3 separate regions of the Homo sapiens genome follow, and regions 2 and 3 are each linked to region 1. The links are contacts of gene promoters, found by promoter capture Hi-C in blood cells and fetal thymus (Javierre and others, 2016). All regions are on one chromosome and are shown on one strand. The core of a region is centred on a gene start or on the middle of the fragment in contact, and the rest is flanking DNA. Distances in the headings are between cores, read along the strand shown. Region 1 holds the start of SREBF1 (sterol regulatory element binding transcription factor 1). Region 2 has its middle 75 kb from the start of MED9. Region 3 has its middle 47 kb from the start of NT5M.

The links. The method cuts DNA at HindIII sites, captures the fragments that hold promoters and counts their contacts. A CHiCAGO score of 5 or more calls a contact.
Region 2: a fragment that was not itself captured here is called in contact with the fragment with the promoter of SREBF1 in region 1 in 1 of 17 cell types (fetal thymus); the score reaches 5.3 in fetal thymus.
Region 3: a contact is called between a fragment that was not itself captured here and the fragment with the promoter of SREBF1 in region 1, in 1 of 17 cell types (fetal thymus). The highest score is 6.7, in fetal thymus.

Annotation. Positions count from the first base shown.
Region 1 is chr17:17,834,625-17,838,273 of GRCh38, reverse strand. SREBF1 (sterol regulatory element binding transcription factor 1) reads left to right here and starts at 1,288. Exons shown (of 19, transcript NM_004176.5): 1 at 1,288-1,547. The coding sequence starts at 1,457. RefSeq lists enhancers at 1-608, 609-1,511, 1,512-2,413 and silencers at 1,280-1,439, 1,630-1,909. The HindIII fragment of the contact is 13,614 bases long and covers 1-2,841 here.
Region 2 is chr17:17,399,793-17,403,301 of GRCh38, reverse strand. No RefSeq gene overlaps it. Among named protein-coding and RNA genes, the nearest start is that of MED9, 75 kb to the left of the region's middle. The HindIII fragment of the contact is 1,811 bases long and covers 933-2,743 here.
Region 3 is chr17:17,348,488-17,352,132 of GRCh38, reverse strand. No RefSeq gene overlaps it. Among named protein-coding and RNA genes, the nearest start is that of NT5M, 47 kb to the right of the region's middle. RefSeq lists an enhancer at 123-702. The HindIII fragment of the contact is 819 bases long and covers 889-1,707 here.

The DNA of each region.
Region 1 (3,649 bases), core at 39-2,538:
CTGAGCCCCAGGGACTTGGGCTCTGTGGCTTCTCTCCCCCACACACCCCTTCTAAAATGCATCATGAATGTTACTCCTGCTTAGGGCGTGGCCAGATAGGCTATATCTGGAGTTTGAGCAAGGCAGTCTGCAGGATGGCTTGACTTATGAAGGTCTGGGGTCGGGAAGGCCTGAGGCCCAGGCCCCTGATGAGTTTCCTGGACTGCCCTCCACCAAGGGTGCTTCTCTCTGCTTGCATACCTCTGGGGACAGGGAGCTCACTGCCTTATCACATTCAGATTCCTGAATGTTAATTCTGGTTTATTTCAACCCACCTCATTGGGACCCCTTCCCTCCTTCCTGCCCCACCTGGCTCTGTCCCTAGGCCACAGAACCAGGTTCGGTTTCCAGCCCTCTTCTCAACAGGGCTGCCTGCTCTGATCTAGTCCCAGCTTGTGATGATCCAGGGCAGCCTGGCTCTGATCTAAAGCACAGCTACCTCTTCCTTGCGGCCCCTATCCTGGCTGCTCCTGGGAATAAGTGCCAAATCTGGGGTCAGACAGCCCTGGGGCCAGTCTTCCTTGGGTACTGGCTTCCTCCTTCAGGAGCTGCACTGGGCCCACTGGTATCCTATCCCTACAGCTGGATCTGGGAGGAAACCAGATGACGAAATTCCAGCCTCTTTCTTTGGCCACTCCTGTCCTCAAGAGGCCAATCTTCTGGTTTCTTTGCAGAGAGGGGGCAGGCTGATCTCACAGGTCATGCTCCCCTCCACATTGTCACTAGCCTCCCAGCCTGCCCGTGAGAAAGCATCATTAGGCCCATGTTACAAATGAGGAAAATTGAGGCAGAGTGATGTAACTGGCCCAGCAGTTACATCAGGCCTGCTCACAACACAGCAGGCCTGGGACCCCTATAACTTGGATCCTGGTCTGTCTTGTTCTAAAGAGTCAAATCTAGGAAATGAGGAAATGAAGTTTGGGATGGGCCCAGGCCTGGGGCTTCCACTCGGCTTCCTTGCTTGGTGCTGGAGAAACAGAGGCCCAGAGAGGGGGCTCGGCTTGCCCGCGTTCCCGCAGCAGCCGGCCAGAGGCCGCTGCCATTGTGCGCGAGGCTGGATAAAATGAATGACTGGAGGGCGCTCTGGAGGAGGGGCCGGCTGAGGGGAGATTTGTGGCGCAGACCGGGGATCAGGGGTCCCCCGCTCTCTCAAGGTGGGGCGGGGCCGTCTATCTGGGAGGGCGGGTCCTCCCCGAAAGGCCCCGCCTCCGCCTCGACCGCCCAGCAGAGCTGCGGCCGGGGGAACCCAGTTTCCGAGGAACTTTTCGCCGGCGCCGGGCCGCCTCTGAGGCCAGGGCAGGACACGAACGCGCGGAGCGGCGGCGGCGACTGAGAGCCGGGGCCGCGGCGGCGCTCCCTAGGAAGGGCCGTACGAGGCGGCGGGCCCGGCGGGCCTCCCGGAGGAGGCGGCTGCGCCATGGACGAGCCACCCTTCAGCGAGGCGGCTTTGGAGCAGGCGCTGGGCGAGCCGTGCGATCTGGACGCGGCGCTGCTGACCGACATCGAAGGTGCGTCAGGGCGGGCAGGGCTTGAAGCTGCGCCGGGTGGCGCGAGTAGGGGGCGCGCAGGTGTCTCCCTGGCCTTTGTCTCCCCCACGGGCGCCAGCTCCGTGCTGTGCTCGCGCGGGACTTCCCGGTGTCTCTGAGCTCGGTGTCCCGAGCCTCACCGAGCCTCCCTGGTTCCCGCGCTAGCGTCTCGGGCCGCGCGCTTGTGGGTGAGGGCTCCTGGGCCGGGCCGGGGTCCCTTGGCGGCTCCGGGCCGGGACACGTGCGCCTCTACGCGTCCCAGGCCGGGTGCCGCCCGACCGGTGACTCTCCAGCCCTGTGATGGCCACGGCTGAAGCTGGGGACCCAGGCGTCGCCGAAGCTCCGCCCCAGCCCCAGCCGTGACGTAATTGCGAGGTTACTCACGGTCATTCCCTCCGGCCCGAGAGTTCAGCTCGGCGTCGGAGCTCTTGCGCATGCGCATGGGCGCTGCCTCGCGCCCTTCCCCCGCCTCGTGTCGGGTTCTCCCGGTCTGCGACGGGCACAGCCTCCGCACTCATTCACTGACATCCACCGAATGCCAGGCCCCGTCTTAGGCACCGAGGGTTTACAGACAGACCTGGGTACCCCCTCTTTTAGGGAACACAAAAATCTCCCGGGAAACCAAACGGGTATTTAGTTGTACCTTGGGTGGAGCGAGGCTGGGGGAGGGCAGGGATGTGGCTACTTTGGGTAGAGCGGTCAGGGACTTCTAAGCTGAGACCTGAGGGTCACCCCCAGGACCAGCAAGGAAAGATGTTTTCCAGGCCACGGCAAGGGAAGGGCAAAGGCCTCGAGGCAGGGCCTAAGTGTGAGGAGTTAGAGGCTTGCAAAGGAGTGAGGTCAGGGAGGAGGAGGACGCAAACCGACTTGGTCGGCCAGGGAAAGGGCGGAGCAGAACAGTGGCACCGGCTTCCATCTTTGGAGCATCACCCTGGCTGTGATGAGAAGGGGTTTGGGGCCAATGGTGGCACCAAGTGCCAATTAGGAGGCCCGTTGCTTCCATTTTGTAGATAGAGCAAACGGAAGCCCCTAGCAAATTGCCTGCATGGTTTCTGTGCAGGAGTTTTAGCAGCACTAGCTAAGTTGCACTTGGTTGATGAGGAAACTGAGGCCAAGGTCGCAGGAACAAGATGCCTAGACTCACAGCCTGAATGGACATGTCCATGGAACCCGTGGCCACCCTGGGGTTGGCAAAACAGATATATCTATGCCACCACCACTCCTGCCCTACTGCAGCCTTGCAGATGAGCCCAGCTGGTTGCCAGCCCCAGAAGCTTCCCAGCCCTCCCTCCTTCCCCCTGGGGCTGGGCTAGGGGAGGACCCCAGAGGAGAGGCCCTGATTGTGAGGCTTTTCCAAAACAGCCTCCCCTATCCCTGGCACGAGGGGTTGTCCTTCACTGCCCTCTGGAGTGATGAACCCTGAAATCCCAAGCCCTAGGGAGATCTGGGCCTGACTCAACTACCAGTTCCACATCACTGGGCCCAGTGAGTGTAGTCCCAAGAGGCAACGTGACCAAGCCAGGAGGACATGCGCTTTGGGGTCAGAACTTGAACCTGGACACTCCTCACTTCCTTTGTCATCCTGCTCAAGCCCTCTCACCCTCTAAACCTTAGTTTCCACCTCCAGAAAAATGATGCAAACCCTCCCTTCATGGGCAAGTTGGACAACAGAACCCGTTCTGGGCCACAGGTCTGATACAGACCTTTGTTTGTTTGTTTGTTTGTTTTCTGCAGTGGCGCAATTTTGGCTCACTGCAAGCTCCTCCTCCTGGGTTCACGCCATTCTCCTGCCTTAGTCTCCCAAGTAGCTGGGACTACAGGCGCCAGCCACCACGCCTGGCTAATTTTTTGTATTTTTAGTAGAGACGGGGTTTCACTGTGCTAGCCAGGATGGTCTCGATCTCCTGACCTTGTGATCCGCCCGCCTCAGCCTCCCAAAGTGCTGGGATTACAGGTGTGAGCCACCGCTCCCAGCCCAGACCTTTCTTACTGACAGAATCTGGTCTGGGCCAGAGGTCTGATACAGACCTTTCTTACTGACTCATGGATAAAAACATTGTCTCTCCAGAACCAAAGGCCAGGCA
Region 2 (3,509 bases), core at 589-3,088, 440 kb after region 1:
TGAGGCCAGCTGGTGACTATTCTAAACACCAGCCTTGTGTTCCCTAGTCTGCAAGAAGCTCTGCAAATTTTTGTGGCCGTTGGTCATCTGCTTTCTTGATCTTTTCTTTTCTTTTTTTAAGAGAGGCAAGTCTTTCTCTGTTACCCAGGCTAGAGTGCAGTGGCACAGTCACAGCCCACTGCAGCTTCAGCCTCCCAGGCTCAAGTGATCCTTTTGTCTCAGCCTCAGCCTCCCAGTAGCTGGGACTACAGGTGCATGACAGCGCACCCACCTAATTTTTCAAATTTTTTTTGGAGATGGAATATTGCTGTGTTACCTAGGCTCGTCTTGAACCCCTGGGATCAAGTGATTCTCCCGCCTCGGCCTCCCAAAGTGTCGGGATTTCAGGCATGAGATTTCTTTAAATTGAAGTAAAATCCACACACTATAAAACTAACAGTTTTAGAGTGAACAATTTCACGGCATTTAGTACATTCTCAGTGCTGTGCAGTCATCACCTCTATCTAGCTCCCGAGCACTTTCATCCCCTGACAGGAACTCCATTCCCATGAGCTGTCACTCCCCACTCCTCCCTTCCTCCGGCCCCAGGCACCCAGCAGTCTGCTTCCTGTCTCTGTTGGTTTACCTATTCTGGATATTTCATATAAGTGGAATTGTATGTGATTTCTTGTGACTGCCATCCTCCCTCTGCATAGTGTTTTCAAGGTCCACTTGTCTTGTACCTTTTTGTGGCTGAATAATATCCCATCGTACAGGTATATCGTACCTCCGTGAGGACCTACAGGGCATCTGACACCTTATGTATGTAGGCTTAGTTTTCCCAACCACCCAAGAACTGGGCACTGTCGTTTGCATTTTTTAGATGAAGAGACTGAGGGTCCGAGAGGCTGCAGAACTTGTCCAGGGTCTGGAAGGTAAGAAGTGTCCAAGCTTGGATCCACATCTGCAGTTGTTACCACTCATCTGTGGATGCACAATTGGGCTGCTTTCACCTTTTGGCTGTTATGAATACTGCTGCTGTAAACACTTATGTATAAGTTTTTGTTCAAATACATGTTTTCTTTTTTTTTTTGAGATGGAGTCTTTCTCTGTTGCCCAGGCTGGAGTGCAGTGGCGCGATCTCGGCTCACTGCAAGCTCCACCTCCTGGGTTCACGCCATTCTCCTGCCTCAGCCTCCTGAGTAGCTGGGACTACAGGCGCCTGCCACCACGCCCAGCTAATTTTTTGTATTTTTAGTAGAGACGGGGTTTCACCGTGTTAGCCAGGATGGTCTCGATCTCCTGACCTCGTGATCTGCCTGCCTCGGCCTCCCAAAGTGCTGGGATTACAGGCGTGAGCCACCATGCCCGGCCACCTGTTTTCAATTCTTTTGTGTAGACACCTCGGAGTGGAATTGCTGGGCCATATGGTGACTCTAGGTTTAACTTGTGAAGAACATTTTTAAACATGTTCCGTGTGGGTGCATATTTTCTCTTTAACTAGAGAGCAGGGCTCTCTTGTTCTTTGGCCCCCTCCATCGTGGCCAGTCCTGGCTCAGCGTGCAGACAAGAGGCCCCCTGAGCTGTGGTGGCACCAGAGGAGTGAGTGTGTGGACCTCACTCCACCCCAAGTGCTGGGATGTTGACTCATGGTCTTGCCAGGCACTCACGTGACTGCTGGTGGGGACCCAGCCTACATATCCTCTGGGCCTTTCTTGGATGCCTCTCCACCTCTTGCTGCCCTCGGGTTCCCTCACTTCCCCCATTCACACTGGAGCTGACCTTGGTCTGATGTGTCTCCACAAGTCCCGCCTCCCCCACGGATGCCCTGTACAGCGGTACAGGCTGTGCACTGCCCAAGGGCATCCTGCCAAAGGCGCAGTGCTCATTGACATTCAGTCCATGCTCCGCTAGCCAAGCCCTGCAACCCTTGGGACTGCAGCCACCATTAGAGGGCGCTTTCTTCCTTCACACAACGCACCACATGGGCTAATGGCAGCCCCCAAGCCCTCGGTGGACCCAGCACTGACGGGATGTGCCCCTTGCTCACTCCCCTGGAAGGGGCAACTCTGCCCACTCTACATTCACTGATGACCTTCCTTCTCCCTGGGGACGTTCATACCCTCAACCTAGGCTCCAGATATTTTCTATGCCCCCTGAGGGGGTGGGTCCATGCCGCCAGTGGGGGTGCCCTGGTGGCCCACTGTAAAGGACTCTCTGCCCCTTACCCCATTCTCACTCCTGAGAGTTCTAGCACCAGATGCCCAGGACGTGCGTGTGTGCCTGCTCACTGGACAGAGGTTCCTGTGTAAACACTGCCATCGGGACCCCAGACACACGCTCCATGTGCACAGACATGCGCTCACGTGGGTGTGTGGGTTAGACATGACATACAGGGATCTGGCCTTCCCTTGCATTGAAACCTAGTTGGCGGGTTGGGAGGGTATGTGGTTAAATCCGAGCAAGAGACACAGACCCCATGAGTGTAATCACATGCCTAAACCAGGCCAGGAGACTCGGGCACACGATGTGGGTTTGTCTGCTATGTGGGCACTGGACTCTGGGAAGCCTGAGCCCCTTGGAGCCCCCGCTGGTGGGACAGGCTGGAGCTAGGAGCTTAGCAACTCGGGTTCCTGGAAGGTAGAGAAACATAAGAGCAAATCAGGAGACAAGAGGAGGCAAGGAAAGCTGGAGGGCAAAGAGGCCCCTGGAAGCCCCTCTAAGCCCAATTTCCCAGTGTTGACAACGAAAACAAAATCAAGCTTTCGAAGAACTAAAGTTCATTTCATTCAGGAGTCTGAGGACTCCAGACCACATCTACTGCCTCAGGGCAGTTCTGTTGAAGCCCACGGCTTACATACAGGTGGTGGAGGTTCAGCAAGTGCAAAATCACATCGGACTTGCTCAGAAGTTACGTTGAAGCAGCAGCCCATCAAGGTGTGGGTGTAAGAGCACCTCTGGTTATAGATGGCAGAGGCATCGTCATTAAGCCTGTCAGAAAGGCAAGGACTAGAGCTCTTCTCTTTTAAGGAATCAAGTGACTCAGGCAAGAGACGTGCGGGGCCGGGCGCTTCATCCTGCTTTGCCTTCAAAGCATCTTTCCAGAGAGCTGCACGTTGTCACAGAGTCAGGGGTTCAAGCAGAAATGAGCCAACGTGGCTTCTTACGCATGCTACTTCGTCTTACAGTGGGAAGAATAAAAATGCTTCATCCTCATCCCTGGGTGCTACAGCCTTTGCAGCCTCCTTGTCGGAGTGGGAATGGTCGTCAGCGGCAGGCACATCTGAGAGCAGGGCACACCCTGAGACAGGGCAGGATCGGAGCAACATAAGGGCACATCTTGAGGCCCTGACTGGGGCCCCAGGCTGGCTGCTTTTCTTCCCACCCTAGAGGGTATTTCTGTACCTCTCTACCACAAGGCGCTCGAGGAAGGCTTACTGAGAATGCTGCAGTGGAACAAAGTCTGAAGGAGGTGAGGGAGCAAGTTCTGTCTGTGTAGTGTGGAAAAGCATTGCAGGAGAGGGTACAGC
Region 3 (3,645 bases), core at 49-2,548, 490 kb after region 1:
CAGGCTGGGAAGCAGAAGCGGACAGTGCAGTGAGAGAGCAGGAAGGACGCGAAAGCCTGGTCAGACTGTGTGACCCCCTGGGGGTGAGCGTGCCCTGGGCCTCCCAGGCCAACGAGCTTTGCGCACGTGCACATGGGTGGGTTTGAGCTGCGTTTCTGACACACGCAAGTGGAAGTCTGGAACCTGGAAGGGGGCCAAGGTGGCGGGGGGCGGGGTGGGCAGTGAGGACCCCACCCAAGCTGGGTAGGGGCTGCAGTGGGGAAGCAGCCAGGGACTTGGGCCAATTGCCCACTGAGGCTAAAGCTGAAGGGACCCAGCACAAGAACGTCTCGTGCTGGGACACGCTGGCCCACATGCCACCTGCTAAGGCTCATTAAGGGGTTGCCCTCCGCCGGGGCGGGCTGCCCAAGTGCAGCAGAGACCGGCTCCCCACAGCACAGGTGCAAATGGACTGATGAGGGATCCCCAGCGACACATGTGCCCTGGGAAGTGTGTGGTCTGAAGTCCTCACATCCCTCGGAGCCTGGAAGGGGGTGAGTGACAGGACAGAGGCTCAGCAACGCTGGCCAAGGAATCTGTCCTTCCTAGGCATGGGACACCCCGCTCAGTGTGGGGGTCCCCATCAGCAGCTTGCGCAGTCCCTGGGCCCTCTGGGGTGGAGACGGGTAGAGGGCCCAGCCAGAAGGGCTCTGCCACATCGTCCTTCACAAAAACGTCTGAGGAAAAGGCCACGTGGACAAAAGGAGGGCCTCCTGAGAAACACTGAGCAAGGCTGACCCAGGTCGAACGCCGCATGGCCTCGGGAACGTAACTGCACCTCCCGAGCCTGCCTCCTCCCCCCCACAGGTGGGAATGGCACTGCCGTGGACTGGAGAAGGATCAGAAGCTTTCCTCACATGCATGGCCTCATCTGGCCTGACGACCCCACGGGGTGAGGACTCACAGCCTACATGTGTCAAGAAGAGCTGGCCTAGGGTGGGGAACCTGGGCCAGTGAGCCCTGGACAGGCCCAGGCTGCTCTCCCCCTGGGCTCAGGCACTCGAGGAGTCCATGCAGGAGATACCAGGGGTCCCTCAGAAGGTGACCTGTGGTCAGCCCACCCCTGGTCAGAACCCCAGGCTCGGGGAACCACAAACCCCAGAGAGGTCTGAGGGCCAGGAGCAGTGTTCCCATCCTCAGCAGGGTCCCCAGGGTGGGGGCGAGGCCAGGCAGCAGTGGCCCCTCACCGAGGACAGATGGACACCCTGCACAGACAGGGATGAAGGGCCAAGGGGGAGCAGCATGGGGACAATGACAAGGCCCCTCTGCTAGAGGCCCCCCTGCTGGAGGCCCCGCTGCTGAAGAGCAGGTAGGGGAGTCAGATTCCTCCACCCTCTGGCAGGACAGAGAAACAGGGGCACATTCCCCACATACCTGAGCGTGCGGCCACGATTCCTACATGCTCCACAAACCTGCTTTCCCAGCGCCCTCTCCACCTGGGGGATGTCACCCCTTCCAGGGGCTCTGGTCCTAGAGCTCTGAATCTTTCCAATATTTTCAAATGAATCACAACTTTCACCGAGAGCTGAGTCACTGAGAGGCCAGCCTGGTGGATAAGGGAGGGATAGAGCTGATGTGCCATGGGGCAGAACCAGGCCTAGCTCTCCTAACGGGGGTGGATCTTCTTTTCTGGGGTTCAAAAACTGGTTCTGAGGCAAAACACAAGCTTCCCAAGCTTTCAAGAAAGTGACCTTCATTTCAATCAGAATTTTTTTGTTGTTGAGATGGAATTTTCTCTGCCACCCAAGCTAGAGTGCAGTGGCGCGATCTTGGCTCACTGCAACCTCTGCCTCCCGGGTTCAAGCGATTCTCCTGCCTCAGCCTCTCGAGTAGCTGGGATTACAGGCGCCCGCCACCACGCCCAGCTAATTTTTGTATTTTTAGTAGAGACAGGGTTTCACCATGTTGGCCAGGCTGCTCTCGAACTCCTGGCCTCAACTGATTCATCTGCCTCAGCCTCCTAAAGTTTTGGGATTACAGGCGTGAGCCACTGCGCCTGGCCTCAATCAGGAGACTGTTGACACGATCATGAATTTGGGGTCTCAGCCAAGGTCAGTGCAATGGGGACGGCAGCAGCCGGCTGAGCATCCAGGTGCAGACGGCACCTCACTCATCAACGCCTGCTTCCCATTTCCACCTCAGCAAGCTCCCCCCAGCCCTGGGTCTCTGCAGGGCGTCTCAGCCAGGGGCTGGCCCCTTCTTCCACATAGGAGACCGTGCTGGGACCTGAGGCCCCCGGGGCCTCCTCCTGCTGCTCCACAGTGCCTCGGCAGCCCCAGGCACCCCTCGAAGTGCTTGTTAACGTCACAGCAAGTTGCTTTGAGACCGTCGGGTGGGGTCATGTTCTGAAACATTTTTGCCCCTGCAATTATTTTTTTTTCTTTAAATAAATTATGTGGCTGAAGCAGCTGCCCACCTCGGGGTGAGTGATGATAACAGCAGAGAACAAATGTGGCAATTTGGAGCATGGAGTTCCTAAACTGACCTTTAAAACTGATGGCAATTATCAGTCTAAAAGGTTTCGCAACAGTCCGTCTCCTGAAGGATTCAGAGCATGTTACTCTTGCGGATGCTTGGTTAGGAGCTGACGGAGACTGCCCAGCCCTGCCCTGCCCTAGACTCAACAAAGATTCCCTGGCTGGTGTAAGAGGCAGGAGGGAATGTCCCCCAGTGGTACCCCACCAGGCCCTGCTCCCCTCTTTGTGGACAGAAGGCCTCAGGGCCCCTCCACAGCTCCCTCGGGGTCCGTGAACACTGCTCTCAGCAACCCGACCCACACCCCTGCACCAAGTCAGCCCCCAGGCCCGGGGCTCTCCCTGGGCAGGAGGAGGGAGGGAGAAACCAGGATGTGGCTGAGAAAATCTGGACAGGATTGAGTTTCTGTCATCAGAAGGACCCCCAGGATGGAAACAAGCCAAGTTGTTTTCTGCACCCCAAGCTATAGTCACAATGTTTTCAGGGTGTGGCTGGCCCCAGGAGAGTCCCTGTGACTCGAGTCTTCTGATGGGGCAGTCCCTCTCAGGACAGGGCGTGGAGCAGGTGGACAGGCCCTGCTGGGGACAAGAAAGGAGTTGCACATCACACATTCTCCTGGCCCTTCATGAGGAGGGACTTTCAGGGCCCCACAGGTGAGACCTCAGACAGCAGGAAGAGGCAGAGGGACTCAGGAGCAGCTGGGCAGCCAGCACCCCAGGGTCAGACTTCCCTCCAGAGCCATGTGGCAAGACAGCCAGGACTCTTCCAACCACCACCCTGCCTGGACCAGATGGTTTCAGATCATGTGATGCAACCCCAAATATATTCCTGGTTCAGCCTCTCCCCTTCACCCCAAAGAAAAATGTCAGTTCAGCGGGTAAGGGGGTGGGGGTGCCGTGGAGATCTGCCTTTGGCCAAGCCTAGAGTTCTTCCTCCCTAAGCTGGGGTGATGGAGCCTGGAGGAGTCCTCCCTCCCTAAGGTGGGTGACGGAGCCTGGAGGGATCCTCCCTCCCTAAGCTGGGGTGATGGAGCCTGGAAGGGTCCTTCCTCCCTAAGCTGGGGTTATGGGGCCTGGAGGGGTCCTTCCTCCCTTAGCTGGGGTGATGGAGCCTGGAGGGGTCCTCCCTCCC